6 separate regions of the Homo sapiens genome follow, and all the other regions are linked to region 1. The links are contacts of gene promoters, found by promoter capture Hi-C in blood cells and fetal thymus (Javierre and others, 2016). All regions are on one chromosome and are shown on one strand. Each heading gives the region's core, a stretch centred on a gene start or on the middle of the fragment in contact. The rest is flanking DNA. Distances are from core to core; before and after follow the strand shown.

Region 1 (2,700 bases), core at 72-2,571:
GGAGGTCAAGGCTGCAGTGAGCCACGATCATGCCACTGTACTTCAGCCTGGGCAACACAGCGAGACCTTGTCTCTAAATCGATAAATGAAATAAAATGAAATAAAATAAAATAAAATAAGATAGGGAAATTTCACATCCATCTGAATAACTAAATAAAAAGGTATAAGTATTTTGAGATATGCAAAAATTCAGTAAGTTTATAGCCATACGATCTGTATGAAAAGGTTATTCTAGGACATGCTTCAGTAAAACAAGCAAAAATGCAGTTAAAGGATGAAATGAGAGTGAAGAAAACGTTGCTGTTGAATGAGATCTAGCAGAAATAAAGAAAATGAAAAAAAATTAAAAAGAGACTCACTCAGCCTTAGAATTTTGGAAATATTTTGTGAGGGCACATGGAATTCACATTCTTTGTCCAAGTGAGAGACAATATTGCCTGATGGTTAGGACATGGGGTCTGGAGGCAGACTACCTGGAGTTAACCACTATCCATAGTTTGATTTGTAAACTTTGCAACCTTTGTAGTAGGTTCATACACAGGCACGCCCATATGAAGACACATACCAGCACGTAATCATCTGTAAACCTGGGAATCAACTTGCTGAAGCCAACTCCATTTTTACCCGAGTACCCCACAATTGCCGATACCAGTTTCTGATCTTCCCATACACCTTAACAACTTTCCACTTCTCCACTTCTTCCATTATCCTTCATTAGGTGAAAGAAAGCCATTTACTTACTCCTAGGCATACCTGAATGTTCTCTCCTATCTAAGACATTGTCATACAATGCCAGCTCCTGTCTCCCCTCCAGCCAATAAAACTAACAAAAGGGGATACGCTCTTTTAACCTCTTGGAGTTTTGTTTCTTTAAGGCAAAGATGTGATTTGCTAAAAAGACTGTTGCAAAATGATTTCCATAGCTTCCCTAATGTGTTTTTTCCAGGTACAGAATGCTACAGAGAAAAAAATTAAATACTGCATAAATACATTATCACATTAACTAGATATTGGTGCTATTACTTGTGTTCTGAGTTATACCCTTCTCCCATGCCCATATCATATCCCTTTTCTTCCACTTTCCTTCCTGAATAATTCTGACTAGATTTCAAGCACCAGATCAAAGAAAGACCAAAGAAGGCTAAAACCACATGCATTCTGCTAGCAAACTCTACTCAGCAAGAGAGACCCTGCCCAGTAAGAACGTGAAATGAACACCTTCACTTACTTGGATGACTGCTAGCCTTTCCTTTTTTCTTTAGTCCAAATCCAGACATTTCATCAGGGAAGTGTGTGGCAAATAGACGGCACTCTCGAAAGTGAAAGTAAAGCTTGAAAAAAAATGCTTTTATGTTTGGTGCATTCCAAGAAGGGCAAAGGGAGAAAACAAAAACAATCTCTGACAACCTCAGAGAGGCGTTTCAAACCGCCTCTGAAAAACACCTAGTTTTTATTTTATTTTAACTTTTTTTAAGCTGAGATCCTTGGATTTCATTGAAAGGGTCACAGATTTAGCAACAGCTAAAGTTGAAAGTGGGGACCTCACCATTTGATGTGGGCGGGTCTGGACCTCTGCAAGTTAAGGAATAACAGTGAATCCCTCAATTTTCTGCTAGACTCATGCGAAGCTGTCAGAATTGAGTAGTGTATGGTCACAGGGACAGAAAAAAAAATCCCTAATCAAAGCTGAAGTACTTTCCCTTCTTTCGTCTGGCTTTTATCTCTTTGCAACACTGTAAAATAACACCGGCAGAAATTAACCTCTTGATCCAGGAAGAAACTGAGTTTCACAGCAGAGAAAGAGCCAAACATGGCAAAGCTGAGAGCCAGTCCCACTCCTGCTGATCCACTTTTCCACGGTCAGACGCGTTAGGGAACAGATCAGTATGCCCAGAAAAGTTCAGATTAACTAAGAATTTCGTTCTTAATTTGCTTTAATGACTCCAACTAGTTAAGTAAATGTACTTGTTAAGAAATGAACTCACTTTTTTTCATTACAGATGTGCTATGATCTATTATAACTATATTGTTATATAGTGAAATATCACAATTGGAAGGAACTATAGACCACCTAATCTAACTCCCTTGTTTGAGAAATTAGGAAAACGAAACCTAGGGAGGTGAGTGGTTTGCCTAAGAACATGCCACAAGCCACCATATGCTTCAATCACACAAGTCATAAAACAACTGGACGGCTGGGACATGGCATTAGCTTGAACTCATTGCAGAGCTGATGGCAAGAAACAAGCGTGCATCATGGTGCAAAGTGCCCTCTTGTGGGCTCCAGCTTCAGCTAGACCGCTTTATAGTTACTGGGCTCAGGGCTACATGTCTCTGATTTTCATTTGTGACATCTGTAACATAACACCATAAGCAAACAGATGTCCTGAGTACGTGACTGTCCCTCACATCTATCCATTGGGATGTCCAGGAAAACTTCACTAATATTCAAAAGATTTCTTCTCTGTGAGCGCCTTGAAGGCAGGGTGAGGTTTATTCTTTGCATTATAGCTCCCCAGCAACCCTCTGAGGTAGACTGTTTCTTTGGCCTTCAATGAAAGAGACTCGTCCTCAGAATTCAAACCCTTGTGTGGCCTTCTCCCACGCTGACTCTAGGCTTGGCCATTTGACTAGCTTTGACCAGTGGGATATTAGCAAGCATGCAACAAGGTCTCATTGCCAAACACGATTACCCAGGCT
Region 2 (2,700 bases), core at 86-2,585, 410 kb after region 1:
GTAATTTTTCTAACAGCTTAGAGAATTATTTAATCAATAAGCACAAGGCTTGTAATGAAATGTTTATTGATTTGGGGACATAAGTGGTATGGTTATACAGTAATGAAATTAGACTTATTCTAGGTCATTTGAAAACCCATTTGCTTTAAAGTGAAATCATAGAAATACACAGTTACTATATCTATGTTTCAAGCCTGTGGAATAGAAGTTTGTTTTGTTTTAAAATAAGTAGAAAAGTTTCACAAATTATGCTTCTTTATCTGTGTGCCTATGTGTGTTGTGTGTATTTAGCTATAATTTTAACTAAACGTTCTTACTAATGTTTGATCTTATTTGCATGCATTGTGTGCGCCCTGTAATGATCAGTACTGTGCTGTGGGTAGACAGGCATGCTTAATAGTCCTGAGCTCGATATCTGTGAACTAAGCCGATTCAGTTCCATCAGAATAGATACCTATTGAACATCTACTCTGTCATCAGCACTAGGCTGCATGTTATACAAAATATTAAAGAAGCATATATATGACCATCTTCAACAAGAAGCTTGAGATACCATTGGGGATATAAAATAGTCAGATACGGAACAATCGAAACAATGAATAATTAAGAAATCAAACAGAGATTCATGAAGTGCTCAATGAGGCTGAAGTAGGGAGAAGCCAGTGGTTGAACATGTCTCTCTGATCCTTTACCAGGTATTTGATCCTTCTAGAATAGGTTGCTTCATGATATATACATCCAAACAACTAGGTTCCTTATGTTATTCACCAGCTCTGGAAACATTCATTCACTAGAAGATATCCCTGACTAAGTCTGAGAACCAATCCCTTGCCTCATGTCAAAGGACATCCACGTCAATGCTGCATGCGGAACAGCACCACCGTGTTCTGATTGCTGATGTTACGACTGTCAGAGCAAAGTCGTCCTCCACATTTACTTGGTACTGACTCCTACTGATACCATTTGGCACCTCTGTTGGCAGAGTGGCATGCCCACTAGTCAGCCACTTTCATTCTTCCTAACCACTCCCTGGACCCTCAGATACACAAGAGAGTGATTTTCAGAAATAAGGGAATAGAGAGAAGGCAAAGAATGTAGCATGCCCTCTGACATCAGTTTTCAAAATAAATAAGAGCTTGGCAGCTGATTACTCTCATGTGATTGGAAGTCTTTTATTATCACCTAATGGAATGATGTTTACAGGGAACTATGTGCTAATTTAACTCGATGCCTTTGCGCTTTTCTCAGAGCCAGATAACAGTGAATGGAAACTCAGGAGGTGCCGTGAGTCCCATGAGTTACTATCAGAGGCCGTTTTCCCCCTCGGCATATTCTCTCCCAGCCTCACTCAACTCCAGCATTGTCATGCAGCACGGCACATCCCTCGGTAAGTAATTTACTCACCGTGATTTCCATGGCAACCTCAATGCGGCAAGTACAACCACAGGAGAAAGATATGCGGCATCAAGGTGAGGCGGGAGCGCTCAGCACTCATGACCCTATCCCCAGGGAGAAACTGGGGCAGAGGACCCAACATGGGAGGAAATGGGCACCATGCTATTCCAAGACCATGTCTCCACCTGTGTCTGAGCCTGGTGTGGGCACTTAGATGTCTGAGGTGGTGGAGTAGAAAGAAAAAGAAAATGGCTACTTAGGGCAAGGGGGTTTGTGCCACTGGAGGACATGAATGCAGGTTTTCCACTAGGGCAGCTTGTTCGGACTTGGAAGAGCTTCCACCATGGACTATTTCCTGGGGTCTATATAAGGGAGAATCGTTTGACAGTTAAAACAGTGTAACAGGAGGACAGGCTGTCCCACATAGCAGGGACGCAGTCATCTACTGGCTCACACAAGGAGAAAACCACCATTCAAACCAAGGCTGGAAGACCTGCAGTCAGGGATATGGTAGCAGGAAGCCACACAAGAGAAACTTAAGTGTTCCCTTAAATGAAGGTTCTGTCATTGTATAGAGCAATCGTTCTCAACCCTCTGAGGACTAGGAATTCAGTGAAAGATAGAGCTCTCCTCCAGAAAACAAATGGACATACGGACGTTCATAAAAAATTGTAAGCAGATAATTTCCTGGGGCTCATGGACTTTTTGTGGCCTCCTGTGAAAGAAGCTTTGCTGTACAGTGATAGAAATGCTCTTACATGGTCAAGTATGTTCAGATAGTTCAGAAAATAATGTGATAAATACTTTTTTTTTTTTTTTCAAGATGGAGTCTCACTCTGTCGCCCAGGCTGGAGTGCAATGGGGCGATCTCGGCTCACTGCAACCTCTGCCTCCTGGGTTCCAGTGATGCTCCTGCCTCAGCCTCCTGAGTAGCTGGGATTACAGGTGCCCGCCACCGCACCCAGCTAATTTTGTATTTTTAGTACAGACAGGGGGTTTCACCATGTTGGCCAGGTTGGTCTCGAACTCCTGACCTCAGGTGATCCACCTGCCTCGACCTCCCTAAGTGCTGGGATTACAGGCATGAGCCACCGTGCCCGGCCCATAAATATTTCTTAGTTTGTAAAAATGTAACTTAAAAACCTAAAATATCAAAAAAAATACGAAATTGAACTATCATAGGAATTCAGGCTGTACAAGTTTCCATGATGTCGACTCACTAGGAAGCTTCTAGGACAGCAGGGAGCAGAGGGGAATTCTCAGGACAGCAGCACCATCCTGCACCTCCCAGAAAAGGAGAGGCCT
Region 3 (2,700 bases), core at 177-2,676, 460 kb after region 1:
TGAAAATGAGCCTGAGAAGGATTTTATATGAGGAAATGATCTAAGAATCTGCCATCTTAAGAGAGGCATTTTTTTTTAGAAGGCTGAAGTCTTGGCATTTTATTTATTGTGATCCTCTTTGAAGACTGAGTTTCAGTTGCAAATAATTACCCTCAACCCTGTATTCATGGATAATATATGGAAGAGTTTGGTACTATCCAATTTTGTTTGCTTGATTGGTTATAGTTTTCCAGAATCTTCTTAAGTATATTTACTTCATTACCAGACCTTAGCATTTACAGATCAGCATCCTTCCTTCAGTATTTTCTATTGATAAAGAGAAAAGATAAGAATCTTCATGCATATATTTGTCTTATCCACCATTCAGTCATCTTTAAATAACTATCACAGAAATTTCAAAGCAACTGTACCTTCAAATAAAATGTTGTAAGGAAGAAAAGCATGTATGTACAAAAGCTCATTAAACATCTAACAAATTCTTCCATATGTCCTAATATAATATTTAATGGCAATATAATATTTTTGATCCCAATGTTTTCATCTTTGATGTGAATACAATTTAACTGTAATTGAATATATTTTCAAGTTTTTAAAGTAATACCAGATTTTAAACAGAGGCATGTACAAATTTCACTAATAACCAGTTTTTTATTGCTCACTGCTGGGGAAAAAATATGTTGAGAAGCTTATGTCCATAATTAGGAAGAAATACTTAATGGTTTTATCCCAACTGGTAATCCATGCTGTGATGTCACAGGCTTAATGAAGAAAACTTCCCGGAAGTGACAACCATTTTTAGAAAGATAAATATAATGTATTTCTAAATGATAACATCCAAAATATACTAAACGCTACAGAACCTATTTTCTAACTGATATTTACAAACAGAGAACTCATTAATAATTTATAAATCACTCTGGTGACACATTTAAATCACATTTCTTGACATACTGTCTTTGTCTTAGGGGAGACTAAAATGTATGTTGATTTTATTTCTGATATTTCTGCTTTTAGTGCATTAGAATCCAATTCTGATGCTTTTGGAAAACAAAATAATTGTATGGGTTTTGTATTATAGGTATAGGTTTGTGATCTAGTTATACCAGGATGCTTCATTTGGCTTTCGGTATAAGCAAGTCCATCATAAAGCTAAGCAGTTTAACCTGCTGACATGTATTTCGGTGACTGTGGTGGTGACGGCACAGCGTAGTCGCAGCATCAGATAGCAATGGTGATGGTGGCAGTAATGACAAGGGAATTCAAGATCTTTCTTTCTCATCTACATAATATTCCTGGCATAACAGAAAGTGAAAGTGGAAACCTGATGGTCTGAAATTATTATATATTTCACAGACTTTCCAAATCTAACTATGAAAACTTCTGTGTTATGTAACAAGGGGTATAAACTAGAACTCTAGCTAGTAAGGGAACTTCTGTAGACTGCTGAATGAGACTTGAGTGGTTTATATCATTGAAAACTCAGCATCTACAGGACTTAACAGGAGTGGCTGTCTACCTAGGCGCAAACCACACGTGCAGTCTCACTGTGTGTCAGCAGCTAAGCAGCCCAGGTCCTGAATCCTGTATTAAGATGCTCACATGAGTTTTGTGATATTTATGTCATCCCACGATAAGATGACTTAAAAAAAAAAAGCTAAATAAATCTAATTAATACCCCACTCCTACTATAGGACACAGGAGTCAAAAGTTAAGTAGGAAATGCATCACCCACTCACACACACTAAGTCCCCAGGAGCAAGAGGGCTGCTTCCCTGTGTAAAGTGTTATCCTAAACAATCAGCTGGAAAGTGTATCTCCAGAATCTTTTTGGAGATGTTTTTCTTTCCAAATCAAAGACATCTACCTGGAGAGACCTAAAGTGAAAGGTCCCTTCTCAAGGCTTTTAGGCACATAGCAGGTAGCATTTTCTCTAGTCCGGTAAGGGTAGATAAACGTATTCCAATGTTAGTAAGTGGCACTTCTGGAACTACATTTTTTAATTTCTAATTTTTATGGGTACATATGGGGTGTATATATTTATCAGAACTACTTTTAATACCTTTGCATAAAATTTCAAATGTATTGTTTCATTTACTATATCCAAAATACATCAGTAATACTACGTATGTAGAAGTAAGTATATTTTACTTCAGAAGATTAAGCTTCATAACTCATACCTCCTCTGATTTACATAAATGTCAAGCTTTGAAAGAGAACGGGAGCTGAAGCAGAAGTCCTCCCTCCCGTTAGCATCAAATGAGCTTTCTATGTAAATATTTACTTTGGATTTTTTAAAACTTTGAAGCCGTAGTTATGTAAGCTCAGCTTCATTCTGATCATGGGTTCCTGTCTTTGAGACATAGTTTTCAGAACTTATTCACTTAGAAATTTGTTAACATATAATGATCTAAAATACTTTATTCATATGTTGTAATCACCTTGCAAACATAAGTGAGAAAATTGTCAGCGTTTAAAAGATTGGGCTATCCTGCAGGACAAGAGAACACTACACACATTCAGGAAATAAAATGACTTCACTATTAGTTTTCATTCTACATTAACATTTCTCTGGAGTCATTTATACTCTACTAAGTCAGTATCTGGAAACCTGTAATATCTTTTCAACATAGTTTAAAGTAAGTAAGCATTAAATCTCTTAAGGGCCAGGCGCGGTGGCTCACACCTGTAACCCCAGCACTT
Region 4 (2,700 bases), core at 112-2,611, 480 kb after region 1:
AACAGCTCTCCCGTTTCCTAGGTCTGACGTAGATGCCCGAACATTCAGTGACTCACCTTAACTTTAGTTTGTGGTGGAAGCAGAGAGACGTTCCATTCTTCCCACTTAAAAGGCAACTTCATCTTTACCATCCTAAAAAAAAAGACGAGAGGTCTTCTGGGAAAACATTTGTAGACAAAAGTATTTTACACTGGGCCACAGAAAGAGGTGAAAAGGAAACACAGGCTGCAGGGCAGAGAATGGAAGAGAGGAAAGGTGAGAGGAGAGGAGGGCTCACTCTAGACATCCATCGGTGGCAAAATCATGAAAGAATTGAGGCCCTGGTGCGGCCACAAGCCTCTGATTTTATTTCCATTAAAAGAAGAAAAAAAGGCCGGGTGCGGTGGCTCATGCCTGTAATTCTAGCACTTTGGGAGGCCGAGGCGGGTGGATTACCTGAGGCCAGGAGTTCGAGGCCAGCCTGGTCAACATGGTGAAACCCCGTATCTACCAAAAGTACAATAATCAGCTGGGCTTGGTGGCAGGTGCCTGTAATCCCAGCCACTCAGGAGGCTAAGGCAGGAGAATTGCTTGAACCCAAGAGGCAGAGGTTGCAGTGAGCCGAGATCATGCCACTGCACTCCAGCCTGGGCGACAAGAGCGAAACTCCATCTCAAAAACAAGGAGGAGGAGGAGGAGGGAGGAGGAGGAGGGAGGAGAAACGTAAAATGGCTTGCCTAGCCAAGGAAAAAGAAAAACAGCCATCAAACCAAGGCAGTAAGTGCCAGGATATAGGAGACAGATGAAGCTTGAGAGACCCTTATCCGGTCCATCTGCGCTGCCTAAAGAAGAATTTAGCAATTTAGTGCACCAACTTTTACAAGAAGTGTCCAAGGAATTACATTATTTGAAACCAGAGGCGAACATAATTATGATAGCCATTTGTGCGTGTGGTTAAACACACACCATGTTAAAAATCATGCCACTGATAGAACTCCCACACACAAATAGTGCTTAATCCTTTTTTTCATTAATGATTTGTAAATTGTTGAAAAATTGTATACTCGATGAAGGACTCTGGCAGTGCTGTTTTTAAATAAATGATGTGGCACTGACCATGATCTTCTGTAAGATGATAAAACTGTTGGAACAGCGACAGCCTGCCACAGATGATGTCTTCATGTCGCACCTGTGTTGCGCGGGTTGCTGGTCCCTGAGAAGCTTTGCTCTTAGGATTTTCCACTCACCCTGTCACCTGTCAGCCTCGCCTTGATCCCTCACCCCCGACTCTGGTGTGGCAGCCTCAGTGACTGAGCTCCTCCGCCCCCCTCCTCAGCAGGGCTGACTTTCCCTTTAGCTTGGGAGGCTCAGCATTTCTGTTTAGCCTGCCGCGATGGCAGCGCAGCATTTATGCCGGAGGGGCAGTGAGAGCGTCAGGCAACCAGCTAACACTGCTTATTTTGTCTGCCTATGGGCTTCATGTGAGTTGCCTGCCTTCTTTTCCAAACCCCTCGGGGCTTGCTGTCTTCCGAGGCCTTGTAAATGGGAAGTATTCAAGCCCATGTGTATGAACTGATATCGTTGTCACCCCCCTTTCATGACTCGCTTCTATTTTCAGGGACCTCAAGAAGAACCAAATTCTTTGGTACTTTCCCCGGAAACTACGTCAAGAGGCTGTGAATTGCGCTCCCTCCTTCTGTAGAGGCCGCCTGCCAGCCATGCACCTGCGTCAACGCGCCTGAAACACCCCGCGGGCCTCCCGTTGTCATGCCTTACGGTTTCCAATGCGCCGTCACCATCTCCACCTGCCACCAAACCACCAGCAGAGTAGCCGCCGCTGCTGTGAGCCTGGGGACGACATGGCAGGCTGGTCCCCCTCCGTGAAAGTGTGGATTCCTACTTCCTGCTCTAAGCTTTGACACGTCAAAATGTGGGATCAGAAAGAAAAAAATCATGATATTTAAAAATGGTCAAATATTTGAGGCAAAAAAAAAAAAAAAAAGTGTCTCCAGGAGGCTGTCCAGCCTCGTGGCTCCATTTCAACATCTCCCCCCAGGCGATGTTCTCCCCCAAGACGACCAGAAAATTGTTTATTGGGGAATGCTGTGGTTTGCATTTTCATATTCTTCGCTTGGCAGTGTGTATTCTTTTCACAAGTTTGCCTAGTGTCTTGGTTTACACAATATGACAACTGTAACTGTACTTTAGCTATTGTTTGCCTGCACATACATGTTGTAATATGCACAGTGATTACAACCTTTAAAGCAAGAGGAGGCGAGTTAATTTGGATGAGTGTGATTTTGCTGATTGAATGTGAGTTTTCAAATAGGAGTCTTTTTCTGCAATTTGTTTGCATTTTTTAGAAGTGCAAACAGTAAGTAAATAAAAGCCTTCGGTAATAATCATGACAATACAAGAGGCTGAGCTAGGCTACAGGGGAAAACTATTGTGTTGTAAAGTTGCATCGCTATTTTATATTAAAATGTAATGATCAGCATCATGAACAATGAGCTCTTAGTGTTTTATTTATCTGAAAAAATGTAAGTAAAAGCAGTGTTAGTGAGAGGTGCAAAGAATTATTCTAACAGACACCTGAAAGTATCTGTAAGCAATACTAGTAGGTAAGATTTCACTGTGTGTACACATACACATTTGAGATTGTATGAGAACATATAATCCATATGATATGTTGTACATTTTATGGAAATGTAATAGAATCTC
Region 5 (2,700 bases), core at 200-2,699, 330 kb after region 1:
CTGACTTTCAGCTTTCTTGACGCCAAAGCCACAGAGCATTCTTGAGTTGGAAATTACCTCTTTGCAAAAGCAAAGAGCACTGTAAAGAACTTGGCCTGCCCACTCCACAGTGATATTCCATAGGCTCAAGTTTCTGTGCCACTTGAATTCTAGCAGTTTAGCTCCCTGCCGTTTACGTGCCAGCAGGGATGAATGTCCTGACAGCGTGTGTCCACTGTGCATGTGCTTCCACTTGTCAGCATGGGCGAAGCCCAAGTATGATGTGTAGACAAGACCACCGCTTCTCTCTGCTCCATTCCTGCACAAGCCACACACAGCAGACTTGTATTTCTGTCAAGGGCTCCGGTTTTCCATCATCTATTTTTTATAGCACTGATACTCAACCAGTTGCAGCAAATGAAGGGTATTATTTCTGGTTTGAGGGCATCGCGATGCTGATTTGCCATTCCTAGGAAGCAAACTCACCGTGTTGGGCTCTCATTTTACCATGGGAGACCCGGCTCCACAAAACGTAAGTGTTTGGAGATGCTTGATATTTTCACAATGTAAATAACAATTTCCCCATGCATGAGGGGGAAGGGTCATATCATAAGATGGGAGAGGGATGGAAATTTTATTAGGTTCAATTTGTGGCAGGGTGACAGTGGGTTGAAGACAAGCAAAATAATTTGCTGTGTCCTTCAGTTTCTTAGTGTATCATTAATCTTTGAGAGAATTTGGGTATATTCTGAAGCAACTTGGTAGCATTTCAGAATCAGTGCCATGTGCTCTTTCTGAAATGTCACATCTCCTCATAGCAATGTGCTCTCCATATAAAGTAAACCTGCATTTTTAGATTTTAAAAAGAGTGATGAAGATTTGGAAACCAAGAAGCTTAGAGGGAACCATTTCTAAAGGACCAGAAGCCCTCATCCTGAACACACACCTCAATACGCACATCCCCTCATGCACCAACAAACACATAGACTTTCAGAATTTCCCTGCAAACTAGCAATAACATCAATTTAGAATGCTTTTCGCTTATAGTAGATTTACTTACAAGGATTAGTTAAATATCAATAACAAATACATGCATTTTAAGTTGCCCAATGTTAAGTTTCAAATCTGTAGCATATTAATTCCACCAGGCCTTTGGTGGTTTTGCAAGAGTTAATGCCCTACAATTCATTTCTCTATGAATATTTTTCACATTTTAGGTGTATAGCTATTATTGCTTTTTCAAGCCTGTGTTTTGTTTTGCCCTATATTTCCAACTGTAAGACTATTTATTCAGCTTTTTGACTTTGTGAATGTAATTAACATTTTAACTGGTAAAAAAGAAAATACCAGTCCAACCCATACAAATTGCTATTTTTCAGTGTTCCTATGTGCCTATGCTTTATCCAGCAGCAAGATCAATAGAACACCAGGGTGGAGACAAGTCAGCTCTCAGCTGCATTATTCACTTGCTATGAACCTTGACAGCTCATTTGCAAGTTCACACTTTTTTGATGCTAGAGTTCTTGAATCCCTGACAGCTGAACCTTCTAACTCCAGCTAACTATGCAAATAGAGAATGGAACCCAGAGGGTCCCCTTGCACTGGTATCACTTCCAACATATTATTTTGGTCAAACACACCAATCAATTCTTCTTGAATGCTTTCTAATAAAAGGAAACAGTATGTGGAGAGTGAAAAAAAGGGAGACTTGAAAGTGTAACAAAATAAGCCTGAACTTTGTGAGAGTCACAAAAAGAATTCAAGGCCTAATATTTAATCAAAATTAATTTAACAAAATTGTATTAAGACTCCTCCCTTAGACCCACTTGGGGAATGTTTCGGATGCTTTTTCTATATAAAGATATGTTTAATCTGATAGAGCAAGTGGAATTTTTATAACCCAGAAAAATTATTTATTCTTAGAAAAGAAAAAATCCTGGACATGTGACCAGATATGGGAAAAAATATTTAGGGGTGACATTTTTTGGCACGAAACAAAAAGAAAATAGTTTTTTTATGAAATACTTGGCAAAGTAGAAAGCTTAAAAATATTTCGAAACTTGCCCGGTTGCAAAACCACACAGCATGTCTTGTTTTTTCTGTTTTGGGAAAAGGAAAATCTCCGGGCTGGGATCGGCTTTATGAATCCCAACACTTCACTTCCCCTGACAGGAATTAGTTAAATCAACTGAAGTCCTGTTGGAATGCCTCGCCTGTCATCTGTTCTGCACAAAAATGAAACACATGGCATTCTAAGAAAATCCCGAAAGCAGCCAATTTCTCAGAAAATATTTGAATGACCCTGGAAGGTTAATGGCACAGTCATTTACACGAAAATTGCTTTAGATGTGGAAAGGGTATTGTTCTAGGGTCAGTAAAGTGTATGTGTCATCTCAAAGCTCCACATAAACAGGCTGTCTCGATTGACTTGGAAGTGGAGGCAGATGTTGAGGAAGGCGTGGACAGCACAAAAACATTCTGTGATTATTGCTTCTTGATGCCGTGGCTTCCCTCTCACTGTTTTCCATCCCGTAGTGTGTCCGTTTCACGAAGCAGTGTGGCTGCCATTGTGAAGGGACACCTGAGCGTGGCCCACACTGGGGAGCGCCTGTGCCCCTCCGCCTCCTCCCTGGAGCTCCCAAATGTGTTTCTGTAGCTGAGCGGAGGGTGGAAAGGTTTGCTTATTGGCAGGAAGCTTCACTGCACTGTTAAAACTGTTTT
Region 6 (2,700 bases), core at 22-2,521, 440 kb after region 1:
TGGATAAATGACTCATTAGAAGACACAAGCAGAAATGGCACTGTTTTGCTAGCCATCAGCTATATAAAAGCCTCCTTGCAAGGAACTCTTAGAAGCAACTAGCATGGGAACGAAGTAAATAAACTGTTTTTTGCACATTAGTTGCTCTGTGGTCTTAAGTGAATACTATAACACAATAAATATCTTATTTTCATTAAAAGTCTTAAATATGTGCAACTGGGAAACACAACCAGTAGAACCGTTGTGTTGTAGGAGGTACTACTGACACATAGTGGTGACCACTGGAATTGCAGGTATAGAGTCTCAAGAAAATATGCAAATTTCTAGCGTCTCAACTTGCAATTTCAAATTATTTACCCTGTGGTAAACATCAGAGTGTGTGTTAAAACTGAGAAGTGATCAAAATATTTATATATTAAATAAAAGGTAAAATAGAGTAATCAGGAACATTCTGGGTTATTGAATTCAGTTATTTCTAAAGGCTTACATTTTATAGCCAGGCAGGCAGGCATGTAATCTGAAGAAAATCAAATAAAACAAGGGGTTATATTCTGTATGTTATGTTACCTTAATATCTGCAGAAAGAGTCTTATTTCAACATATGAACAACCCAAGAATTTATTTTGAAATTCAATGTGGTCAGATATTTTTCTCAGATATTTCTAGGGTGTTTTTAAGGTAGTTGGTTCATAGATAACTGAAATGGAATTTAGAGTGCATCATGTCCAATTCACTCATTTTTCAGTTAAAAAAAAAAGTAGAGTGCAATAATTTTAAGAAATAAGTCCAAAATCACATGGTAAGATAGTGGCAGAAAAAAAAATATATCTCTCTTAACCTTCATTTCTGTGCTATTTCCTTTATATCACACTTTTCAGCACTTCCAAGATATATATTTAGAGGATAAATCTTTTAAAAACAAATTACTTACTTAATATTATTTCTTGTTAACTATTGAATTCCTGTGAAAAGAGTTCTGTTAATTAATATTACACAATAATTCTTGGGCATAAAAATAGTAGAAACTTAACTCTATGCATTCTATTATGTGATGGTAGTGGCAAAAAAAAAAAAACAACACATAAAAAGCACTTTGCCAGTAGTTGATCTATTTGCCAGTTATCTCTGGGATTGAGAGGGGGTGCTGTATGATTCTAATAGCATATGTTAACTATGTTATTAATTTCACATTATAGTTTTTCAGAATGTAAGAAAATATATTCTCTTAAGGTTCTGGATTTTGTCTTTAATAACCTTTTGTTATTAAACATTTCTGGTAAAAACAAATGTAATTGATTAGACATTACCTTAGCTACCGTTTATCAACTGCCTGGTATATACCATGAATAACATAGATTTTAATCCATAACTGGAAAACTGGCATTAATGAAGAACAGTTACGGATATTTAAGCAAAATTTAATCTCATAGCTACTTAACAGAAAGAGTGATTCAGTATCTGTACTTCACTAAATTGACCTTCTAAGTGTGTTAAAATAATGGTAATATGTAAATAGTAGATCATAACTGGTAAAATTTGTAACCTCTTTTCTGGAGATAATTTTCATTTTGGGATGAGTACACTTCTTACAATTATTGTACAAGTTTTTCTCTCAGTCATCAATCTAGATTTTTTACTCTTATCTTACAATTTAATACTGAACTTTCTCTGAGTGTACATGAAACCGCAAAACTGGTTTTCATTTATTTTGAATGTAGAAACCAGTACAAGGAGAAATAGTAGTTTCTTAGCCTAACCCTAAAACACAATCAGTTCTTACACTATGTTTTATTTCACATTACAATATTGTTTAGGCTCATTATAAGTTGACAATTCAAATTTTCTGATCACTGTAGGGTTGTTCTAAGAGTGTTGTGAACTTCACACTTTTTGGTGATCAGCTGTGTGTGAGGGTGTCCCACGAAAGCCGTGATCTGCACAGACGCCGATGCTCTCAGGCTCTTCAGTGTCGCTCTTCTGCAAACGAGTAGAATTAATATTTCTTAATTGTAATATAACGATCTGATTTTATTTTACTTGTTTGCTTTCTTTCATATTTAGTATCTATTTTTCTACCTTCCCAGTGTCTGATTCAGAGCTCAGCAAATTAAAATAACCATGTACACATATCAGACTAGCAAACCAAACTTTTCTCCTGATTTTATATTTGTTGAGAACCTAGAAATCTAAATATTTTCTAGGAACTAAAAATATTACAATCCACTTTTTCTGTCTAAAAGGAGGATGGGAATATTCTCATGCAGAGATGCTTTTGTTTCTAGACAAGATTCCATTTTCATTTAGTAAGATAGAATTAAATTAAAATATTAGTTAATAGAAGCGTAAGTTATGCAAAAGGGACCTTGTAAGACTGATATACATACAGAATTGCAAAATTGTATTGTTTTAATTGATTAATTGGTGCTAATTTACCAATTAATAGAAAACTGAGTTATAGAAATAGTTTGTAAAGTGAGATTTGATTTCCACTAAGTAGATGTTTAATACTCTGATAAAATGTTTCTAGATGATGGCAACTTAAGACAACATTTGTCAAACCTTGCCTTTCTGGCTGACATTTTTAAGCTTTCATACAGACAAATGTTTTTAAACTAGAATTCCAGTTCTTCATCAAACCAAATTTTATCTGTGATGAATTGATCATCAAATATGACCAAAGGCAAAACTATCTATACTTGG

What was found. The method cuts DNA at HindIII sites, captures the fragments that hold promoters and counts their contacts. A CHiCAGO score of 5 or more calls a contact.
Region 2: a contact is called between a fragment that was not itself captured here and the fragment with the promoter of TLR3 in region 1, in 1 of 17 cell types (M2 macrophages). The highest score is 6.1, in M2 macrophages.
Region 3: a contact is called between a fragment that was not itself captured here and the fragment with the promoter of TLR3 in region 1, in 2 of 17 cell types (M1 macrophages and monocytes). The highest score is 6.2, in M1 macrophages.
Region 4: the fragment with the promoter of SORBS2-AS1 here is called in contact with the fragment with the promoter of TLR3 in region 1 in 1 of 17 cell types (endothelial precursors); the score reaches 5.2 in endothelial precursors.
Region 5: a fragment that was not itself captured here is called in contact with the fragment with the promoter of TLR3 in region 1 in 1 of 17 cell types (M0 macrophages); the score reaches 5.5 in M0 macrophages.
Region 6: a contact is called between a fragment that was not itself captured here and the fragment with the promoter of TLR3 in region 1, in 4 of 17 cell types (M2 macrophages, M1 macrophages, monocytes and 1 more). The highest score is 9.4, in M2 macrophages.

The regions. Positions count from the first base shown.
Region 1 is chr4:186,067,777-186,070,476 of GRCh38, reverse strand. TLR3 (toll like receptor 3) reads right to left here and starts at 1,321. Exons shown (of 5, transcript NM_003265.3): 1 at 1,229-1,321. The HindIII fragment of the contact is 1,902 bases long and covers 1-1,333 here.
Region 2 is chr4:185,660,791-185,663,490 of GRCh38, reverse strand. SORBS2 (sorbin and SH3 domain containing 2) reads left to right here. Exons shown (of 27, transcript NM_001395207.1): 8 at 1,249-1,387. Among named protein-coding and RNA genes, the nearest start is that of SORBS2-AS1, 74 kb to the right of the region's middle. The HindIII fragment of the contact is 1,579 bases long and covers 546-2,124 here.
Region 3 is chr4:185,607,952-185,610,651 of GRCh38, reverse strand. All of the region lies in intron 24 of SORBS2 (sorbin and SH3 domain containing 2), which reads left to right. Among named protein-coding and RNA genes, the nearest start is that of SORBS2-AS1, 21 kb to the right of the region's middle. The HindIII fragment of the contact is 1,477 bases long and covers 688-2,164 here.
Region 4 is chr4:185,586,586-185,589,285 of GRCh38, reverse strand. It overlaps SORBS2-AS1 (SORBS2 antisense RNA 1), which reads right to left and starts at 1,361. Exons shown (of 4, transcript NR_186082.1): 1 at 1,096-1,361; 2 at 57-132. SORBS2 (sorbin and SH3 domain containing 2) reads left to right here. Exons shown (of 27, transcript NM_001395207.1): 27 at 1,598-2,700. The coding sequence ends at 1,659. RefSeq lists enhancers at 1,707-1,786, 1,065-2,264. The HindIII fragment of the contact is 692 bases long and covers 1,203-1,894 here.
Region 5 is chr4:185,737,812-185,740,511 of GRCh38, reverse strand. The region is part of intron 2 of SORBS2 (sorbin and SH3 domain containing 2); the gene reads left to right. Among named protein-coding and RNA genes, the nearest start is that of SORBS2, 73 kb to the left of the region's middle. The HindIII fragment of the contact is 1,147 bases long and covers 876-2,022 here.
Region 6 is chr4:185,631,847-185,634,546 of GRCh38, reverse strand. The region is part of intron 16 of SORBS2 (sorbin and SH3 domain containing 2); the gene reads left to right. Among named protein-coding and RNA genes, the nearest start is that of SORBS2-AS1, 45 kb to the right of the region's middle. The HindIII fragment of the contact is 2,635 bases long and covers 1-2,588 here.